Linked DNA regions of Homo sapiens: region 2 is linked to region 1. The links are contacts of gene promoters, found by promoter capture Hi-C in human tissues and cell types (Jung and others, 2019). All regions are on one chromosome and are shown on one strand. The core of a region is centred on a gene start or on the middle of the fragment in contact, and the rest is flanking DNA. Distances in the headings are between cores, read along the strand shown.

Region 1 (6,702 bases), core at 1,424-3,923:
CAAGTTCCCAGGTGCTAATGAGGTGGCCTCAGGACCACCTTCAGAGGACCACTGGCCCACAGATCACACCAAGGACCCCCTTGTCCTTAAAGTGCAATAAAATGTTTCCAGAGCATATAATCAAATCTTTTCAAAACACATGCAGGTAACTGATTGGATGTTCAAGCGGCAATATCATGTTAATTTTGGCTTTGTGTTCTTGTGTAGTCACAACTTGAATGTCTGAACATTACAATTTGTCCTGCTTGCACATGAAACATACATCTCCATCAGACCAGGAACACCATCCAAATGTCAGTAATAAATAACTGTTATGTATTGTGTCATGTCTATTATGTGCCAGGCACTGTACTTGTAATAAAATAATAATCCATATAACACATGGCAAGATGGATCCATGTAAATACTCTTTACATGGATACGTTAAAGAGTATTTACATGGATCCATCTCCCCATGAGTTATATGGATTATTATTTTCTCCTTTAGATGGATGACAAACCAAGGCACAGAGAGGTTAGGTAACTTTCCCAAAGTCACACAGCTAATAAGTAGAGGATGCAGAATTCAAAATCAAGCAGGCTGGCCTGAGACCCAATCTTAAACATTAAGCTAATTTGTGCCACTTTAATACAGCTTTGAGAAGAAATAGATTGTCATCTTAACAACATTAGTACACTGCCAAAATTTAAACAAAGGGTTACAAACCTCATGTTGTTTGCTGAGGGGAGAGGTTGGCCGTGGTACTATTTTTATTATCAATGGTCATGAATAATTTTAAATAGTCTAGAAGTCACTCATGAACAACAGAATATTCATGCATCCTTTGAACTCAATACAAAAAAAATATTAGTGTGCTCTTATTATCCTAATAAAAAAAGGCTTCTGGCATGTTTTATAAGTTGCTTTTTAGCTCACCTATCACCATGGTCAAATCAGTCCTAAAGTGTCATTTTCAATCAGGATTGTCTAGTTCTAAGTCTCTTTCTGATTAAAAAAAAAATGGGGTGGGGGGAGAAACAAGATGTTTTCCTTTGCACACTGAATGAGAGAGGAAAAACTTGTTCATACTCTAAGGAAAATGCTCCAAAGGGCCCCACACCAAACCCCAGCCATCTCCACTCTTTGAGCCATCAATTATTCATGAAAATGGTGAGTATAACACTTGCAGAAGCTTCAAATATAAATGACACCATCCAGAGAGATCTCCTCCACTCTTATTTTGGCAGGGGCATGGCAGGGGTGCATACAAGGGTTACAATACCTGAAAAGGTCACTAGGCATCTGTGCCTCCATGTCTCAGTCACCACCAGGAGAGAGCTGAGATTTATTTTGTTGTAGGCATTATCCTGTTTTTCTAATTGCCTCTATCAGCCAAATTTTTTTCAGTTTGAATAGATGGATGAAAACTAGGAAAATAGCAAAAGCCAGTGGAGGCTCCCGAAGTCATTGACCCCAAGGTATCCTGCTCCAAAAAGTAGAAGTGAGAAACAGGAGGTAGATACAGGCAGCAGGTGATGCTCCAAGATGCTATTTGCTGAGACCCTCTTAGAATAAGAGGAAAAGCAGGGGTCCCTATGCAGCCTGGACCCCTACTGTCTTCACAGGTGCCAAGAATGATATCAGTTCTTAGGCAAAACAAAGATAGTGATAATTATTATTATAAATTGTAATGTAATTATAATTTATAATGTAATTATATTATTTCTATAACAATTATATTATTTGTAATATAATTATAAATATCTTATTAATAAATAATAATAAACAGCTTTTTTCCAAATTATAAATAAATATGCATCCAAAGTCACAACCTTGGAAGTAAGTCCTTTGCACTGTCAAGATTTTGACAAGCTAAAACTTCTCTCATGATCAGTATCTTTGTATTAGCACATATAGAATAGTCTTAAGGAATAACCATTTCCTTATGTTCAGCTCAAGAATCCTAACACTGAAAAAGTCAGCACTGGCAATAATGGATTGAAAATTAAATGGAAATAAAACCTTTAATTATTCATCCAGCCCTTCAGTGTTTCTCTCTTGCTTATAAATAATACAAATGATGAGCCTGTTTCAACAGGCTGGAAGAACGGAAGGAAACACAGTATGTAAAAACAAGCTAAATATACCCGCTCCTTTCATTATCAAAGAATATTTACTATTTGAATGCATTATTTCTTGATGTTAATTTACATTTCACCATAGTCTTGATTCAAGAAAAAACTTGTTTTATTATGTTCCCAATAGGATTGCTTCAGATAGTCAGTTGCAGAGTTCAGATGCCAGTGAATTTTTCATTAAAGCTCATTTAGGGAGTTTCTAACTCCTTCAATCAGAAACAGAAAACTGTAATTATATTTAAAGTCATTCAAAAATTCAGCAAATAATTCTACATTTCTAAATAAATCTAAGTGAGGATTAGATATATCTGTGAACCCGCATTTGCTTATGCCCACAACACTTTGAGGAATTTAAATTTTTGTCTTCCTTTAGTTTCAAATCTTCATAGAAAAACTAAATGATGCCCCTCCCAGAGACACAAACTCGTACTATTCTACAAGTTACAGCAATGGCAACATTTAAGGAGAAGCAAAAAGCAAAAGTTGATGACATACCCTAAGTGACGGTTTTTGTCAAGCAGGATTTTCTTTCACCCAAGGATCCTGCTGGTCTCTCCCCACAGGAGGAGGAAAGCTTTTATAACTGGAATCTTCTTAGCCCCGCCTTCTTCTCTGAGGTTCTTTTAAGCAGAGGAACAAAAAACTTAAGCCGCTGAAATTGCAAGAAGACTCCTAAAGCCTCCAAGCATAGCAGCAATTTAGCAGTGGAATACGAGTAGGGAATGGATAATTAGTGAACATGGTATTTTAAATGCTAATAAAGAAATGATACCAAATTCCTGCTCTTAGCTTGACAATAACACCATAGTATGAAATCATACTAATACTTAATTTCTGCAATTAATGGCACATTTTAAAAACCACAAATAAAATGGGAAATGCTCATTATAGAAAGTGATGACAAGATTAATTAATAAATTAAAAGCTCTTAATTAAGATTAGGAAAAAAATTATTAAATAGAGGAAATTTAACCAACATTGCTTTTTTGCAGATTTTGTGAACTTTCCTCATACCAACTAAATGCAGTATTGGGCCAGGCAAGAGGGCATCATGGAGGTGAGCAAATCCAGCTTCATTAATTTACAGCTATTTCCTGTCCCCTTTAAACTACACTTTGGAAGAGCTCTCCTCGAAGAAATAAGTAACAATTGTCAGTGGGCAACTTTCGGTCATTTTACTTAAATCACGTGCCACAAACATAACAGTTATATTATAACTAATGTTCCTCTGTTTTGGCCATTATTTCTATTTTATTTTCATATGAAGCATATGTCATAGAGAAATACAAATAGGATAGTGTATTTCAGGAACTGATTGCACAAGACATACACTTGCAAAAAGGTTAGAGATGAAAGAGAAGGAGTGTGAAGGGGTTTTTTGCAAAGGCAGAGAGATTTGAGCAAGGTCTGAAAGGAAGGATAGGGTTGTAGTGATAACTCCTGCAGAAAGCATGTTCAATTCAAGAAGAAAACCCCCTTAACAAAGAGAGACAAAAGACTCCAGACAGAGGTCTCAAACTCAAATATTCCAAGGCTCAGACAGGTCATAAAGATGAAGGGAGCAGCCAAGTGTTAGGTAGTAAGTAGGGAAGGGTGGGGGCTGTGGAAAACTGGAAATGATAGATTTGAATGAGGACCCGTGAGAGAAGAGATCCAGCTAGAAATAGAGAGAGAGAATCAGAGAAATCTCAGAATTACTCTAAATATGGGTCCTAGGACTAAAAACTCCCATACCCAGCATGGTCCCCAAGCACATATATAGCACTGCACAGGGGAGCAAGTCCATCTGAGGAGCGGAGCAGCAAAATGAGCTTTTTAGCTGTTAGAAATATTGAGCCAGCTGGGTGCAGTGGCTCATGCCTGTAATCCCAGCACTTTGGGAGGCTGAGGCGGGCCGATTGCTTGATGTCAGGGGTTCAAGACCAGCCTGGGCAACATGGCAAAACCCTGTCTCTACTAAAAATACAAAAATTAGCCAGGTGTGGTGGCACGTGCCTGTAATCCCAGCTACTCAGGAGGCTGAGACATGAGAATCCCTTGAACCTGGGAGGTGGAGGTTGCAGTGAGCCGAGATCATGCCACTGCACTCCAACCTGGGTGACAGAGTGAGATTCTGTCTCAAGAAAAGAGAGAGAGAGAGAGAGAGAGAGAGAGAGAGAGAGAGAGAAATATTGAGCCAATTAATTAAGCTCATGTGGACTTCTCTCATTCATTTTCTGGTTATTAAGCAAGTCTTTTGTTCTATCTCAATTTTCATTGTAAATCCAAACTTGTTTTATCCACAGCAGATAATGTATGATCTGGCCTGAACAAGTTGTATTCAAATATCTTTAGCAAGTCCTTAAAATCATACGTGAATGGATCCTTGCTGTAAGTAAGCATCCTCATGAAATGGGAGCGAGAGAGATGGAGATAGAGAGATATAAGTAGAGGTGTACATATATAATGTAAATATTTACCATTTCATCCAAGACGCAACAAAATGCCCAATTCATCTAGCAAGATAGATAGAAATTGTTTTGGTTTTTTTTTTAAGATGCTGGATTGTTGAACTATCTTTTAATGCCAGAAGGTGGCTGCCCTGAGCAACCTCAGTCACACACAGACGTTTTTCAGCCACTTACTCCTCAAAGCAGGTTTCAAAGGTGAATTAACAGCACTGTCCCTGCTTGTCCCTGAACACCTTCCTCCCCCACTAAGATAAGCAGAGCCATTCTGCATACTTCCAGCTAGATATGCAGACTCAGACTCTCAGCTTGGCTTCCCTATTTTTTGTGCCATGAGAAAACATTAAAACTGAACAAACTGTAGGTGGATGATGATGATGGTTACAGAGCAATGTGAATGCATTGATGCCACTGACTCTGCACTGCACTCTCTGGCTGAGTTTGCTGTACTGGAGCTGGTGGAAGGGACAAGGCTCTCTGGTCAGTGTGGAAGGCCTCCCACCCCAGGCATTCCATGAAGAGTCTTCCCCCATGAAGAGTCCTGTGGAGGCTGCACCGCAGCCACCCATGAGCCTGCCTCCCTCTCTTGACTGTATGCAGGAAGCTGGAGTTCTGGTTGGGTCCTGATCTTACCTTCTTGGCAGGAGCTCAGGCCTCCCCCTGAGGCCTTGATGAGGAGAGAAGCCTCAGGTACTAGTTGAGGGTCCAGGGGCCACTGGCTCACACTGCAAAGAAGAGGCTGCTTCCTACTACTAGAAAAAGGAGGACCGGCAGGGCTCATTCTGCTCCTCTCACTAAATCTTAGCCCTAGCCAAGTGTAGAAGAGAATTTGACACACTGGTAGCAACTGATGGAGGTGGGCACATACTCCCAAGTTAGAACTCTGGTCACTCAAGGACATCAGGTGTCTTTTACAATAAGCCTTGTACAGGAGGCACAGACACTCCCTGACACTAACTCCTGAGAAGAGCAGATTGCAGCTGATGAACACACAACTGGGAGGCACATCAAGTCATACATCCTTCCTCCCATTGTGCAAAGGGTGCAGTGGGTGCTACCCATAACCCTGTCTCTTGGCCTCTCCTGGTAAGAGACACAAGATCTCACCTTTTCCAGGAGAATTAACAACTTACCCTTTACTTCTGCAGGCTCCACGTCTTCTGTCCACCTGCATCCTCCAACCATCCAGCCACTGTTTTATAAACTTTAATATAGGTGTAGGTCATCAGGAAGAAGAAAGGTTACCATGGCACCAGAGGCGCAAATATGCAATGAATCTGTTGCCAAGACCCTGGTCCTTCCCAGTGAGTGTATTCAGCCTAACACCATGGGCTGACCACGCCAGCTCCTGGCATATCGAATGCTAAGAAAGCTCTGAGGGCAGTAAGTATAGGGCATCTGCTCCACCACAGTGGACTGGCTGAGGAAGCCTGCACACAGTGCTAGAACATTGCTTTCATGAGCAACACAGGCAGGTCCCAAAGCATAGCCATGGCCCAGGAGGAGGCTTGTGGCACCTCATCCACACAAAGCCCTTGAGTTCTCCAGTACATGTGCACAGCCCTTGTATCCAGCCTCTGAGCTACTCCCTCCCATGCCACAACACCCTCTAGGCCTCTCAGTGGCCCAGGCCTCCCTCACTGTTTGTTTGTTTTAGTCCCATAACTGCAGCTCCAACCCTTTTCCTGGCTGTCTTCAAAAATTACCTTGCTCTCAGACTACAGCCTTCAGTTCACCATCTCTGTTCTCTTTAATATTCTGTGACCTATACACTGACAGTCAAAAGGAAGGCAGATCCTTGGCTACACTTCCTATGTCAACAGCATGGCTGCTTCACTACCTCACCAACTCAACATTGCTTATGACTTAGGCAACTCATCCATCAAGAACACACGGTTCCATAGAAACTGTGGCCTGTACCTCAACTTCTCTGATATAATTTTGAGTCTGGACAAGTTTCTAGCTGATATAGTGCAAGTTAACATAGAGATCCATAGGACCCTCTAGCTTACAAATGAACAGTACAAATAATGCATTTATAGGTCCCAGAAGCAATGACCTGATGGGAAGCTCCTAGCATAAAGTGTGCTTCCAACATGCATAGCCCACACTTGCAAACAACCATGGAATCCTTCTC
Region 2 (6,702 bases), core at 1,519-4,018, 450 kb before region 1:
GAGAGAGCAGAGGACAAGGGAACCATTCTCTTCTGCATTTCCAGGGGAGAGGACAAAGCCACAGGCATCTGCATGTGCCTGCAGCCATCTGCATGGCCATCTCTGCCCTTCTCTTGGGAGATCACAGTTTTGCTTATGTACAACCACTCTGAGCTCTCACTAAACTCATCTTTTCTATCTCAGCATTGAGGCACTGCGGGCGGCTCTCATGGGAAGTCCCTGATGAGCTCTATCAGAAAGGCAGCCTGCCTCTCCAGCCTCACCCATCAGGCCTGCTCTGAAAGCAGCTCCTCTCTTGCCAAGGCGAAGGCTTGGATTTACACCAGCTGTTGTGCACTCCGATTAAGACTGTCGTTGAATCAAACCCTTGAAAGCAGCCCTGATGCCCATGGTGTAGATTGAGTTTTCGTTCATGGGTCTCTCTGTGTGGAGTCTGTAGCTAACACAGATTTAGATATGGCAGTGAGCTCAACTGGAAAGAAGTCCTAATCGCAAGCACATTGGTACTTCTGGATAAGTTTTGGCAAAAGTTATACATTTTTTTGAAGGGTTTGAGGAAGAATAAAGATACACGAAGGCCTTTGTTAAGTAGCTGGATTATTCAATTATGCACAAAAATGGAGAAAAGACTTGGTACGAGTAATTTCAAATGACTGAACTATAATAAAAGTTGGCATTGGAGGATGGAGGACCCATTCTTGAGCGTGTGCGTGTGTGTATGTGTGTGCACGTGTGCAGCAAGGCGGGGGTTGCAGGGGTACGGAAACCTGCCTCATTTGCTGGTGCAACTAACCCTGCTCTTGTGACGTCATCTTTCCCCGCCCCTCCTCTGTAACCTGAAAGTTGTAGGAAAAGAATTGTTCACCACATTGTTTGTGTATGATTAGTTATTCAGCTGTACAAACTTTTTTCTAGTGTATTCACCTCCTAGAAATAGTGGAATTAAGAGAAAAAGACAACTAACTTATTGGAGACTCCTACTACCTACCGGGTGCATCACCTCCATGCCTCATTTAAGTCTCAAGGAGACCCTGGATGTAGGTGTTAATATTCTGTTTTTAAAGATGTGAAATCTGAGGATCAGAGAGGTTAAGTTATTTGCGTAAGATCACACAGCTAGTAGTAGTAGATACAAGAATTGAATAGAGGCAGTTAGTTGCCAAATGCACAGCTCCGTCTACTCTAAAACTGTAACCTAGATGTCAGGGGGACGTTGTCAGTCTTCCACCATTCCTGCAAGTTCCCAGGGGGCTCCTCCTCGTGGTCTCTTCTGTCCTAAATGCTTCTGAGTCTGTGTGAGCTGCCTCTGTTCCATCCCTTAGACACAATGATAAAAAAGCCCAGGCACCTCACCAGTTACATAAGGTATCTACTCACACCAAGCGTTTTGTGGGGCTAGGAACTTGACTAACAGAAGGTTTAGGGGTGAGATCACGAGCTGCAGTGACTTCCTCCTCTCTCCCCCTCCCATTCTGTTCCTTCCCCAGCTCACCCAGTGGGCTCCTGCTTTCGGAACTTTTGTAGAAAGTAAAGCAACCACACTCCATGACCTCTCTCCACGCACGCTAGAGCTGGGAGCACGCCATGGATGAAACACACGGTGAGATGCAGCTCAGGCTTCTCTCCGGGGGCTTCCAAGCAGCCCCACAGAGTTGTTCCAAAATGGAGTCACTCATACTTAAATTCCATGTCACCAAACTGAAACGACGTTGTTTATCTGACATTTGAGAAATCAGAAGGGAGATCCAGTTGTAAGCTATGTGGTAAGAAAGTCCCTCTGCTTCAATCCTTGTGAGGAAGGCAGCCTGAGGTGACCTGATGCCACCCCACCTCTGGTTTGTCTTATGCTATTTCCTTGTTCCTGCTCAAGCTGCCTTACAAAAACCAACTCTTCTGCCCACGGGGCAAAGCACCTTTTCTGTTTCATAGCTGGGTACATCATGACTCATGAATCAAAAACAAAATGGCAACAAGTTTAAAGATCGAATTGGCAAAGGCCAACTTTTTTTTTTTTAATTTGTTTTTGACAGAGTAAAAATCACCTTGTCCTTGAAGAAAAGCATCAAATGAGCCATTTTGTCTAAACTGCCAAATCCGATCTCAACTACACCACTATGGCAATAAGGCACTGATCAAATTTTCCTTTCTGGACATGGCCAGTTCTAACCAGAGGGGAAGGTTCATCATTTAGGGGAGAAAAATGATACAGTATTTGGGACACAATTATACTAAAAAAAAATTATTTGTTGTTTACTTGAAATTTAAATTTAACTGGATGCCCTATATTTTATCTGGCAACCCTAAGAAGGAGGCATAAGAAAGGGATTATGGCCGAGTGTGGTGGCTCATGCCTGTAATTCTAGCATTTTGGGAGGCTGAGGCAAGAGGACTGCTTGAGGCCAGGAGTTTGAGGCTACAGTGAGTCATGATTGCACCACTGCACTCCAACCTGGGTGACAGAGTGAGATCCTGTCTCAAAAAAATAAAAAAGGAAGCTTAATTTCATGGAGCTAATTTTCATGCAGGATATGCTTAGAGATTCAGAACTTGATCGTGTTTCCAATGCACAACTGTTTTGGGAGAGAAATAGTTTCTTAAATCCTTTGAGTTCATTTTCCATGAATTAACCAAGTATTGAAAACTTGGGTGAAGAGTGTTGTGTTAATTGGAAACATTGCTATCACAATCTCCAAGTATGGTTTTTAAGTAAGCCTGGGAAATTGCAGTTTGAAAATGCCATTAGCATCAATCAAAATGAAACACGAGCGTGACACCCAGGAAATGCCCTGGGAGGGCAGAGGGGAGAGAAAGAGGGAAAAAAAAAAAAAAAAAGGCAAACTTTTCTGCCTAGAAGCTCTCTGCAGCTTCGGGCATGCCACAGAGGAGGCTTTCTTGCCTCTCCACCTGCAGGAGCCTCACCTGAGAAGACAGAGAGCAGCTGCATCAGCTCCCGATATGAAAAAGTGAAAACAAACAAGCCCTGGGAAAATAGACATCATATAAATGTTTAATGTGGCTGCATTAACTACATAAAGGCATGCTCATGCTTTGTAGACAAAATAGTTAAAGTCTAATGCATGGCAGTGATCAGCAAATTATTAAATTGTGCAAGTGCTGATGCTCCCGTTTCCAATTTCCTAATGTTCCTGATGCCATTACAGGTAAATGGTGCCGGCCCCATGTGCACAGAGGGATCTTCACTTGCTTTCTTTTTTTTTTTTTTTGGTTTCCAAAGCTAATGGTTTTTCCCATTAGCCTTATAAAAGTAATGCATGTTCATGTTTTAAAAACTTCACAAAAGCTAGCTTGAAAAATATAATCCATAATCCCCCCTGCTCCCCAGTACTCACTTCTAATTCCAGATGTATTTCTTTTCTGTCTTTTTTTCTTTTTTAGGCACAGTTTTGCTCTGTCGCCCAGGCTAGAGTGCAGTGGCATGATCTTGGCTCACTGCAATCTCTGCCGCCAGGGTTCAAGCAATTCTCCTGCCTCAGCCTCCCAAGTAGCTGGAATTATAGGCACCCACCACCACGCCTGGCTAATTTTTGTATTTTTAGTAGAGACAGGGTTTCACCTTGTTGGCCAGGCTGATCTTGAACTCCTGACCTCAGGTGATTCACCCACCTCGGCCTCCCAAGGTGCTAGGATTATAGGCGTGAGACACACTGCACCTGGCCCTTTTCTGTCTTTTTAAAAAATGTCATTTTGTATAGAGCATACACTACTGTGTTCTGAGGTTTTTTTTTTTTTTTTTTTTACATTACCAAGAATTCCTTTTTAACATAATTTTAAATAGCAGCAGCATACTGGAAATAAATTAAAGGTATGATTAGCAGAAAAATGTATAACAAATGATCCTAAATATTAGCTAGAAGTGAGCCACAAATGCACCAGCTCTCTGCTAGCTGAAGCCAAGACATCCACACCACTAGTTTACAGGATTCATAATGTTTGTAAAATAAAACACAATATGCACTTCAGGGCCATGTTTTTCAGATATTGACACCCAAGGGGGAATTTTCTCCATGAACCCTTCTTGGGAGGATCCATTTATTCTACAAATAAGCCTGCATATGAGAGATAAGAAGGACACTGATGGGATTCAAGGCACACTACCTCAAAGTACAGCATGTTAGCACATTGAGTATTTTAAGCCAAAGAACTATAGGCCTGGTGAGATGGCTCACGCCTATAATCCCAGCACTTTGGGAGGCAGAGGTGGGAGGGTCCCTTGAGGCCAGGAATTTGAGACCAGACTGGGCAACATAGCAAAACCTCGTCTCAACCAAAAGTTAAAAAAAAAAATGACCCGGGTATAGTGGCATGCACCTGTGGTCCCAGCTGCTTGGGAGGCTGAGGCAGGAGGATCACTTGAGCCCAGGAGTTCGAGGCTGCAGTGAGCCATGATTGCACCACTGCACTCCAGCCTGGGCAACAGAGTGAAACCCTGTCTCTTAAAAAAAAAATATATTGAGGTGTGGCAAGTGCAAGAAGAGCGCTCTGACCTTCCCCTGCACTCTGACCTTCCCCTGCACTCTGACCTTCCCCTGAAGCAGGCCACAAGACCCTCATGTGAGAGGTGCCCCTCTTCTGAAGACACAGGGGCACGGAGAGGAATTGAACACACAGGACTTGCTAAATTTCCCTCAGTTTACTCATCCCCTTTAACCTACCACATCCTTCCATGGCTTTCTCATCTTTTATCAAACAGCATAAAAACACACAGGTTTAACTGTTTCTTCTGGTCTTCATGTCATTTGAGGGCTCTGTGTCATGTAAAACTTATTAAATAAATTTGTTGGCTTTTTTTTTGAGACAGAGTCTCACTGTGACACCTAGCCTGGAATGCAGTGGCACGATCTTGGCTCACTGCAAACTCCACCTCCTGGGTTCAAGCTTTCCAAGTAGCTGAGACTACAGGCACAAGTCACCATGCCCAGCTCATTTTTGTATTTTTAGTAGATACGGGGTTTCACCATGTTGGCCAGGCTGGTCTCAAACTCCTGACCTCAGGTGATCCGCCTGCCTTGGCCTCCCAAAGTGCAGGGATTACAGGCATGAGCCACCACGCCCGGCTGACTTTGCTCTTATTAATCTGCATTTGGTTACAGGGGACCCAGCCAATGAACCTAAGGTGGGTAGAAGGGGAAGATGTGTTTTCTTCTTACAACACGTTCATCCAACTTTCATTCTCATAGCACACCCATTGTCAGCTGCAGGTAGCAGGTCATAAGCTCTTAAAGGGGTGGCCTTTTCTACAGATTCCAGAAGATACAAGAAAATCAGCATCATTTTTCTTAGGTTTTTTGTAAATACGTAGTATCATTCTCTACCCCTACTATTGTGATTCTAGCTTTAATGCCTAAAAAAACCCAAAAAATCAAATAATCACAAGCTCATATTATGTACAAATTTGAAAATATAAATGTGTTCATAATAGTATTGTTTATCATGGCAGAAATATAAAGTAAAAATCACCTAAGTGTTCAGCAGTAAGAGAGTTGGCTAAGTAAATTATGGAACATGCGTACAATCCTTTTGGTATGTGAAAAATTATTCAGCCACAAAAAGCAACTATGATGAAGAAAATCTATTGATGTTAATTTTAAAAAAAGAAAAAGCTGGATACCAAAGTTTACGTAACAGCGATTCTTAGATTTTACATGAAAAGGGATTGGAGCAAAATTAAAAAATAATGATAGCCAAGATGACGAGGGAGTGGGCGCCTTTCTTCCTCTGTTTTCTTAAATTTGGGGTTGTCTAAGTTGCTTTCCTTGTTGCAAGTAATCCTATTTGTTGTTGTTGGTTGGTTGGTTTATTCTCTCTGGTTACTTGTTGGTTGTCAAGTCAATGAATGAAACTTCCAGTTCCCTTAAAAGCACTGCAGCCTTCTCATGCATCCACTTCAAGCAGGCTACAAACCTGACTCAGATGTGAGGAGCTGATTGTGCCAGTTGCAAAGCACTGTTTGTTCCTGAGCAAATGATTTAGGACAGTTATTATTACTCAGAAAGTTTATTTGCACAGACCTCACTGTTGCAGCTCATAAAAACGGGCTCTTGATAATACTACATGGAAAAAGAACAAGCACAAACAGGGCAGAATTGGAAATGAGCTCTGGCCCCTGCTGGCCCAGCAAGGAGGAGGGAGGGTGGGGCCTCCCAGCCACAGGTCCCTTCATGCAGTGACTCAGAGGTGCCCTAACTAACAAAGATCTTTCCTGCCTCTTCTACTGGCTGAAAAGCATGTTGGCACCTTGCAGTGGGGCAACAGAGAATTAGAAGAAGCTGGGAAGGGTGAGGATCTTAGAAGGAGACACTAATTTGAACATAGGTCCTGGAAAGTAGAAAGTTAACCATCTAATTTAATGGATCCAAAAATGGTGCTAAGCTTGAACTGGATTTGAGGTTGTGTTTTTGTACCAGCATGTCATTCTGGTCTTGGAGGTACATCCAGAGGTGATGTTTTTGGGCTGGAAGGCTGATGCTACTAAGTGGTCCTTTGCAAGGTGGAATAGAAATCCAGCTAGAGGTAAGAAACACAGGCCCAGTTCTGGAATCAGAGGTCCAGTCAGACAGGCCAGGATCTGGGTAGGGTGTTGAAAGGCAGTGCCAGGGGTGAGAAACACAGGCCCAGCTCTGAAATCAGAGGTCCAATCAGATGGGCCAGGATCTGGGTGGGGTGTTGAGAGGAAGTGCCAGA

The links. The method cuts DNA at HindIII sites, captures the fragments that hold promoters and counts their contacts. A contact is called where the count stands out against the background at its distance.
Region 2: a contact is called between a fragment that was not itself captured here and the fragment with the promoter of TRPM8 in region 1, in 2 of the 25 tissues and cell types used here (bladder and liver).

The regions. Positions count from the first base shown.
Region 1 is chr2:233,913,344-233,920,045 of GRCh38, reverse strand. TRPM8 (transient receptor potential cation channel subfamily M member 8) reads right to left here and starts at 2,673. Exons shown (of 26, transcript NM_024080.5): 1 at 2,614-2,673. The HindIII fragment of the contact is 3,092 bases long and covers 1,933-5,024 here.
Region 2 is chr2:234,368,411-234,375,112 of GRCh38, reverse strand. No RefSeq gene overlaps it. Among named protein-coding and RNA genes, the nearest start is that of LINC01891, 83 kb to the left of the region's middle. RefSeq lists an enhancer at 6,377-6,702. The HindIII fragment of the contact is 5,750 bases long and covers 1-5,643 here.